Regions from separate parts of the Homo sapiens genome. Here regions 1 and 3 are each linked to region 2. Evidence: promoter capture Hi-C in 16 types of primary human blood cells and fetal thymus (Javierre and others, 2016). All regions are on one chromosome and are shown on one strand. The core of a region is centred on a gene start or on the middle of the fragment in contact, and the rest is flanking DNA. Distances in the headings are between cores, read along the strand shown.

What was found. The method cuts DNA at HindIII sites, captures the fragments that hold promoters and counts their contacts. A CHiCAGO score of 5 or more calls a contact.
Region 1: a fragment that was not itself captured here is called in contact with the fragment with the promoter of SERGEF in region 2 in 3 of 17 cell types (total CD4 T cells, total CD8 T cells and naive CD4 T cells); the score reaches 6.4 in total CD4 T cells.
Region 3: the fragment with the promoter of TSG101 here is called in contact with the fragment with the promoter of SERGEF in region 2 in 8 of 17 cell types (total B cells, naive CD4 T cells, total CD4 T cells and 5 more); the score reaches 15.8 in total B cells.

Annotation. Positions count from the first base shown.
Region 1 is chr11:18,756,163-18,759,331 of GRCh38, forward strand. All of the region lies in intron 3 of PTPN5 (protein tyrosine phosphatase non-receptor type 5), which reads right to left. Among named protein-coding and RNA genes, the nearest start is that of IGSF22, 32 kb to the left of the region's middle. The HindIII fragment of the contact is 230 bases long and covers 1,687-1,916 here.
Region 2 is chr11:18,011,537-18,014,300 of GRCh38, forward strand. It overlaps SERGEF (secretion regulating guanine nucleotide exchange factor), which reads right to left and starts at 1,511. Exons shown (of 11, transcript NM_012139.4): 1 at 1,415-1,511. The coding sequence starts at 1,474. RefSeq lists enhancers at 1-303, 304-820, 2,179-2,228 and a silencer at 1,179-1,798. The HindIII fragment of the contact is 12,002 bases long and covers 1-2,764 here.
Region 3 is chr11:18,525,481-18,528,326 of GRCh38, forward strand. It overlaps TSG101 (tumor susceptibility 101), which reads right to left and starts at 1,462. Exons shown (of 10, transcript NM_006292.4): 1 at 1,295-1,462. The coding sequence starts at 1,336. RefSeq lists an enhancer at 1,622-1,731. The HindIII fragment of the contact is 722 bases long and covers 1,206-1,927 here.

The DNA of each region.
Region 1 (3,169 bases), core at 552-3,051, 740 kb after region 2:
AAATTCTGGGCAGGCTTCTCATCTGTATTTTAAAAGGCAACATTACCCCAGCTGACATCTGGCTTATGTCTGGTTCAGACAGCCTAGTTCCCTCTTTGCTGATAACTCTTCTTGGTCCCTTACATCCTTCACTTTTTTTTTTTTTTTTTTTTGAGACAGATTCTCACTCCGTCACCCAAGCTGGAGTGCAGTGGCATGATCTCTGCTCACTGTAACCTCTGCTTCCCGGGTTCAAGTGATTCTTGTGCCTTAGCCTCCTGAGTAGCTGGGATTACAGGCACAAGCCATCATGCCTGGCTAGTTTTTGTATTTTCAGTAGAGACAGGGTTTTACCATGTTGGCCAGGCTGGTCTTGAACTCCTGACCTCATGTGACCCACCCGTCTCAGCCTCCCAAAATGCTGGGATTATAGGCTGAGCCACTGCACCCAGCCCATCCTTCAGGTTTTAACCACTTGGAATTAAAAAGAAACAGCACCGGCCGGGCGCGGTGGCTCACGCCTGTAATCCCAGCACTTTGGGAGGCCGAGGCGGGCGGATCATGAGGTCAGGAGATCGAGACCACCCCGGCTAACACGGTGAAACCCCGTCTCTACTAAAAATAAAAAAAAAATTAGCCGGGTTTGGTGGCGTATGCCTGTAATCCCAGCTACTCGGGAGGCTGAGGCAGGAGAATTGCTTAAACCCGGGAGGTGGAGGCTGCAGTGAGCCAAGATCGTGCCACTGCACTCCAGCCTGAGTGACAGAGCAAGACTCCATCAAAAAAAAAAAAAAACCAAAAAACAAAAACAAAACAAAAAGAAACAGCACCAAGGTCCTAATAAACATCCCCACCTGTCCCACACATCATTTTCATATGTGTGTGTGTGAAATTCCAAAGTTTAGAGATGTAAAGTGATTCATGCAAGATCCAAGCTCAAAAAGGGCGGAGTCCAAATTCATTCACATCCAGGGCTTCTGAATCCGACAATAAGAAACCATAAAAAAATGAGCTGTGAATAAGACTTTATGGTTTACAAATCCCCATTCCCATCCATTGTCTCACTGAATTCTTATAACTACCATGAAAAAAATTGCTTTTCTCATTTCACAGTGGAAATGCCTCATGGGAGGGATGGAGCAGTGCAGGGTTTGTCCAAGCCCATCAGTGAAAGGCAATGCCCAATACAAGGGCAGACACACTCAGCACTGTCTTTACACCCAGGAAAATGTCCCTCATCCTGATCTCACACTTTGAAGGGCCCTGCTCCAATCCTCCATCAGGTATGCTCCTCCTCACAGGTAAGGAGTCCAGGGAACCAAAGGGACATTCTCCCTGTAAGGCCACATATTCAAAACCCCAGATTCCCTGGTCAAATGCTCCTCAGCCTGATTCCTGGACCTGGTGGCCCTCTTTTTTGACTGCTTCATGAGAGTACACTGTGCTGTGTGTATTCCTAGAACTGGCTAAGGTGACTGTTTGCAGAAGGTGTGTTTGGAGCTCAGATGTGTGGGCTGGGGTACCCATCTACCCAAGTGCTCATGAGTGTCCTTGTGGTGCTGGACAGAGCAGGGGTGGACTGGAGACTGGCTTTCCCTAGACCCCATATTTTGGTGCAGAACTCAGAATTCTCTATTTGAACCTGGCTTTTAAACTCCCTACAAATGAATATTCGTCAGAGTGGAAGGACAACATATTTCCTTTCAAAGCTTATCAGCTTGCTTTCGAACAGTTAGCTATCTAGACATAACATATACAGCCTTACAAATGTTAGGGGTGGGACTGCACACAGCTGTGCTCTTTGAAGTAGCAGGGAGGAGAGCCAAAGAAAAGAGAAGAGCAAAAGAGCCGAAGATTTAAGCAACAAAGGGTCAGTAGCTCAAATAGTGGAAGGTTGGGGAAAAGAATGAGACATGGGATGAAGGCCAAGGGGAGGAAGCTTTAGGAGAGGATGAAGCTAGTGTTAGGAGGAATGTGAAAGCTTATAAAGAGGATGTGCTGGTGGATGAAGGATGGCCACAGATTCTCTGCACTCCTCCTATCAAGAGGTGGCATTTACTTCCCATCCCTTGGATCTAGGCTGACCCTGTGACTGGCTTTGATCAACAAAATGTAGTGGAGTGACATTGTGTAACTTCTGGAGCTGGGCCTTAAGAGATCTGAAGCTTCTTTTTTGCCCCTCTTAGAGTGCTCCTTCTTGGTAATCACATAAGAAGTCCAACTACCATGAGACCATCATGCTGTGAGGAAGCCCAAGGTAGGAGCACTGAGGTGCCAGACATATAATAAAAGCTTTCTCCGACATTCTATCCCAGCACAGAATGAGGTGTGTTCAGCTGAATGAGTGACCTCAGCTGATGCCACATGGAATGGAAGAATCACCCAGCTAAACCCTGCATGACCCTCCAAGTCATGAGCAAATAAAATGGTTGTTGTTTGAAGCCACTAAGTGTTGAGATCGTCAGGCAGCAACAGACAACCAAAACAGATGCTGAGATCTGAAATGAAGAAATGAGCTTCAATGGAAGGATGAGTTTTTTTTTTTTTTCTTCAGATATAAAGAATTCCTGAGAGCTGGGGTGATTTGTCCCTGAGCCAGACCAAAGAGAAAGGTAATGGCATCTGTCACTGCATATGTTAGGAGTACGATGGATGTCCATTTGTCTAAAAGGGCATTGGCATCAACCTTTGAAGATGCAGGGGACTGGACCAGATGCATTCCTTCTTTCAGTTGCAAAGACTCTCTTTAAGTGTCATCACACATCCAGGCAACTCCCTAGAATATGAGAACTGTTTCTATCCTGGTGAAGGAAAACGGAGGATCATTCTCCCCACCAACCCTGGCCCCTTAAATATGTAAGCATAAAACACTCCTGCCTGTGGCTGTGCTGGTTCAGTGAGGTCTCAGACCTGTGGTGGGGAGTCAAGAAAGGACCACCAGATACACTACCCCACTCCACTGCTGTAGAACTGGCCTGGACCTGACGCCCGAGCCCCAGGCACAGGAACACAAAGAAAGAAAAAACACAAAGGAAAAAAAGGTTTTTTTTCTGTTCACATTCCATATCCTGGAACAACCATCACCGTCACTATTAGCTATCATTTATAGAGCACTCTGTAATAAGCACTTTACGTCCATGAACTCAATTAATCCTCACAAAATCTCTGTGAAGATGTCATCATATTACTA
Region 2 (2,764 bases), core at 261-2,760:
GTTTAAGCCTCTGTTGTGTGGTATTTTGTTATGGTAGCCCTAGCCGACCAACACACCCCCACAGTTTCAGATTATACAGCAGGAAAAACACACTACCAGTCCTCCAAACACAGCAGAAGGGTGTCAACAACCTATTAAACATATTTTACAACCTTTAATATTCGGCTTTGTCTGTACTGAAACAATATTTCTGTTTCCTCTGTCCACACAGACGCCAGTCTCCTGCCTGGAAAAAGCCAGAGACAGCACACATTCAATCCCCAACTCCACCCCCAGCTCCCGGGCCACCTCAAAGACGCCCAGCCAGCCAGACTACCGCAGGTCACGCCATGCTCTCCCTCCTGCCAAATTGCAGCCCCACATTCAACAATTGCCGCCTTGTACTGATCATTACTTCTTTAAAAATTGGACAACTAATACTGATTTTAACAGCAATACAGGTTATAATTTTGCTCTCCCCCAACACAAGAGCTGGAAGTCCTTCACTCGTGTATTTCACTCATGTGTATTTCCCCAACACCAGCACATGGGTAGGCACACAGATGCTCGTTCATTCATTCGTCAACGAGTATTTACTGGGGACCTACAATGTGCCAGACACCAAGAGAGGCACCGTGAACAAGACAGGCACAGCACCCACTCTTACCACACTTACTTTCCAGCCAGAGAGACTGACGTTAATAATAAATTATACACATCATTACAATTGTGATACGTGCTATGAAGAAGCACAAGACGCAGCGACTGCTTGTTCCCGTGCATGCTGGTCGGCCACCTGCCACGCTCCTGTGCATGAACCCTCCTCTCTCCCAGACACACATCAAGATGACCCTGTCTCTCCCAATGCTCCCGTCAAACCAACAGCAGCCCAACTCCCCCAACACATGCAAGAACCGGTCACAGCAGAGTGTCAGCAAATAGGCAGGGTCTGTGCCTTGTGCGCGGCCAAACACCGCAGGCCTCACATCTAAAGGATGCTTTCGCCAGGCTGGGACAGGGTCTCCCTCCTCCAGGCATCAGGAGTGTGGGGGGCACAGGTGGCCCCACGGAGCTCTGGGACCGGGCGATCCTCTCCACCGAGCCCTCCGCGCTGTCTTCCAGGCGCTATTCGGGCTGGAGGGCTCTCGCGGAACCAGACGCTCTGCCCCGAGGCAGGTTCTTCCCGCGGCGCCACAGCCCCTCCGGCCCTGACCCCGCCAGCCGGCAGGCCCCTAAGTCGACCGCGAAGACCCTTCCTTCCCCGCCCGCCCGCTCCTCCTCCGCTCCCCCTCCGCTCCCAGCCCAGGATCCTTCAACCCAGAGCCCGGCTCGGACCTCAGCCGCCCAGCCCCTGAACTGCCCACGCCGCGGCCAGCAGCTCCCACATCTCGGCGCCCCTCAGGGCCTGCACCGGCCCGGGGGCGGAGTCACGTACCCAGGCGAAGAGCGCGGCCGCCGCGGGGGCGGCCTCCGAGGCGCTGGGCTCGCGCTCCATGCGAGGACGCTCCGCCGGCGCTTCCGGGAGGGACGGCACGGGGGCGGCGCCTGCCGGGGGTAGGTGAGCGCCGGAGCCGGACCGGGGACGCGTGATGGGTAGGGCGCGGGGCGGGGTCTGTGGTGGGAAGCGGCCCGCAGGCCGGGAGAGAGGGTGCGGCCGGGCCCTCGGGCCACTGGGGATCAGTGGTGGGCGGGGCCGGACGACAGCCCCGGAGCCGCCTCCCAGTCAGCCCGCCCCGGCGGCGCTCGCAGCGTCTCCGCCCGCAGCCTCCTGTCTCGCTGGGCCTCTCAGCCTCTCGCTCCTACCCCCTCGTACTCTTTATTTTTAGTCATAATTTCATGTTTCATGCAGGTGCACTGCGCGCCACAGTTCACAAAGCTCCTTCGCGTTTTTGTCTCCTTGGAGGCCCACGACAGCCCAGAGGGGCTGACAGGGCAGCGATGGCATCACCATTTGCGGGAACAGGAAATGGAGCCTGAGGGGTAGGGCAGGGTCCTGCCCGGCGTCTCAGGCGCAATTGTCTTGAGCCCGCTTTGGTGTGCGTTCGCAAACATCTGAGGGGGCGCCTTGGGAGGCGAGTGGAGTGGCACGTCGCCGGTGTCGCCCTCTGCACCTGGCACGGAGCGGGAACCCGCGCCTCGCGACGCTGAATGGGGGAGGCTGGTTAGCGTCGACTCCTGCCGGGGCAGCCTCGGCGCTCCGGGCACGGCCCTGAGCTCATTCTATTAATAATACTGGATAATCGTCACCCAACGAACATTTCCATATAAAATGGCTTTTCTCAGACAGCGTCGTGTTGCTGATGGGAGTTAATTAAGTTCAATTTATCTGAAGGAAAATATGGCACCGCGTACCGGGAATACAGAACACATAGGGTCACATTAAAGATGATCATCCACATTCACATTCGGTAGCACTTGGCCCCTCTGCTGACACGGGCCTCCAGCACTCACTGCCCTTCACCCCTGGGCTTCTGGGAAGTGTCTCCAATGAGCTCTTACACTGTCCTTTCCTGTTCTTTCACTCCATCCACTTTTAGGAGTTTCTGCCTGTAAGACCACTTGAGGGCAGCCCCTCACCTTTATCTCTCCAACCTGTGGCATCTGGAGAACGTCGATGACCATACCAAGAAAAAAGCAAACTTTGGAGAGATAAAACAGCTCTTCATTCTCTAGGGATCTGAATGTGCAGGAGCTATACCATGCTTACTGACTGTCTTATGAGTGGGCTTTTTTGTGCTGACCATTTCTTTGAAGCATGTGTAACAGGATGTAAAAATGGGATCCT
Region 3 (2,846 bases), core at 212-2,711, 510 kb after region 2:
GATTGCAGTGAGCCAAGATCGTGCCACTGCACTCCAGCCTGGGTGACAGAGCAAGACTCTAAAAAAAAAAAAAAAAAAAAAAGAGTCATGGAACAGATACTCTTCAGTTACATACTATGTAAAACAATATACCGTTTTTTTCAAAAAGTGATATATAAAAGTTACAACATGGATCTTTACCTGGGTCACAATCTTCTATGGCTTCCCATATGTCTTCTATAACTAAGGATAACAAGTTTATCAAAACAAAACCAAGAAGCCTAAAATATACGATTACACAACCAATATATGCTTTATTTTGAAAGCTGTCATTTTCTCCTTAGAGATTATTTGGTCTTCAATCAAGAACTATGGGGGCGATTTAACTGGAAAAAGTCTGTTTTTAAAAAAGTTTTACACATAATAGTGTGTTTTATTAAAAATTGAAACCGCTTAAACCGCTGATTGCTACCATTCTTGCTTTGACAAAACTATCCCAAGCTAACACGTTGAACTGGTCAAGACTCAACTCTCAATCATTTTACATAGTTTTGGAAAATTACAACAAAACATAACAAAAGCCATTCCACTCTGGTGTGAGGTGCCACGTTTGAAGTAATTATATAAATAAATCATGGCTTTAAAATACAAAATGCTTAACTGCTTTTTTAAAAATTGAAAAAAAAAACACTAGTCTTGAGCCGTGAAGATCATAAATTAAGCTCAAAGCAAATAAATACGCGTTATAAGAAGCATACACTTAAAAGTAGTTACTCTTAGAAAATCCCTGAAATGGTAATGGTATGTATTTCACCTGGGGCAGTAAGGGACTGGTATTTTCGCTTCTTTTCTGGAGAATACAAAACTGAAAAGGCCACACTCTCTGCGGGTCGGCAAAAGAAAGGCTAAGACTGGAGGATCCCTAGATTGGGACAGGAGTAGAGGATTGCCTCAGATCTACAACTAAGTATGATCCCTTGTTTGTGTTTATAAAAACAAACGAAAAACTACACTGCCCCACAGACAGCTCCAAACTCAGTGGAAGAGAGGAGGGCGGGTGGGCGGCAGGTGTCAGGTAGCCTCCGCTCCACGCCTTTGTTGACTGTCGCCGTCCCCCACCCTCCCAGCTCCCGTACGGGGATTCCCGCACCAGGCGACAGGCGCCTCGGGGCGGGGTTCTGAGGAGGTCGCTAAGGACTGCACCGGGGCTTCCGGCCCGTCTGGGAAGCTTGCTTGGCTGGGCCGGGACGGACTCGACAGGGCGCGGAAGGGAGCGGTGGGCGCGCCCTGGGAGGCGAGCGCGTCGCAGCCTCACCTTGGACACCATTTTCTTGAGCTGGCTCTCCGACACCGCCATGACGGCCGCCTGGCGACTCCCTTCCCCGCAGGCAGAGGGTCAGCCGCTGCTGGGCTGCCCCAGACCGTCCCACACAATCGCACACCCCCAACCCGGCCTCAAACAACAGGAAGTCGGCACCACTACACCACTTCCGCTTCCACTACGTCACTTCCGGGCCGCCGTCCTGCGGGCAAGGGTGGACACCGTGTGGGATTGAGAGGGGCCTGGTGGGGTGGGTTCCAACCAACCCGCCCCTCGAGTGCCGGAATCAGCAGGACGAATCGGGTCCCAAAGATGTGGGCAAGACTGTTCCGAGGGTCGAAACTCTGGTTCAGGATAAGATTAGCAGGTATTTCACAGAGTCGACTTAAGGAAGCTAGTGCCGGAGAGGGAAGAAGTACGAAGGGCTTGCCAGTGAGCCTTAATGACTGATTGATCAAGTGGGAGGGCACTGCACTGGCGGTCAGAGAACTGTTCTGTCACTGACTTGCTCTTGTGATAATGGTAGGCTAGTGCATTTCTAGCTCAGGCGCAAATTTCTCCCGACTCTAAAGTCATACACTTGCCTTAGATGATGCCCAGTGGTCCTCTAATTAATGATTTTTTTTAAGCTTAAAGACCTTCATACTATACGTTGGCAAGGGTAAAGTGTAGAGCCTTTGTTTCACAAGAAGCCAGATAGTAATTTCTTCTCCAGGAAATCATTCCGTAAGTCAGAATTTCTCCTCTGTACCCACCCATAAATGATAATACAGGCCGTATTTTACCTGGTGCTGTATTTGTGTACCTGTCCGCTGTCAAAATCCAAGCCCTTGAAGGCAGGCTTCCTTCAGATCTTCATTGCCTTGCACAATGCAAGGGTAGGTACTTCCATCTTAATTGAATTTTTACTTCCCATAAAAATTCTTCATGGTGACTTACATTAGTCATCATTACACATCACCGTCAGTTTTGTAAGCACAGTGTCATTCAAGGTATTGTAAAATTTTGAGTTTGATGATGTGTGACAGTTTCAATTATTTTAGTACAGCCCTAATGAGAACAAGGCCGTAGTATTGATTCCCTTCAAAGTTGGCGTCTAAGTGAAGGTCACATTCACAAGGAGGGCCTAACTGAAAGCATGTGGAAGCATCATTATAAACTGTTGCTAACACGCACAAATAAAGGCTATTAATAGGTATTGTTTTTCTTTTTCTTTTTCTTTTTTTTTTTTTTTTGAGTCACTCTCACTCCATCGCCCAGGCTGGAGTGCAGTAGCACCATCTCGGCTCACTGCAACCTCCGCCTCTGTTTTTCAGCTCCTTAGTTAAGCATACAGCTCCAGTCAAACCAAACTAGAGGTCTGTCTGTCCTTCCATTTTACTTGCTGTTTTATGTCTTTTAAAAGCAAGAAGGTTTTCAAACTGTTCTTAAAGCCACGGCTTAACCAGGAGTCCCTTTAATTAGAGCAACTGTACCTTTGTGAGTTGGAGGAATGCCAGGTAATATATATTATTTATATATTTTATAAATGCAACATTTATAAATA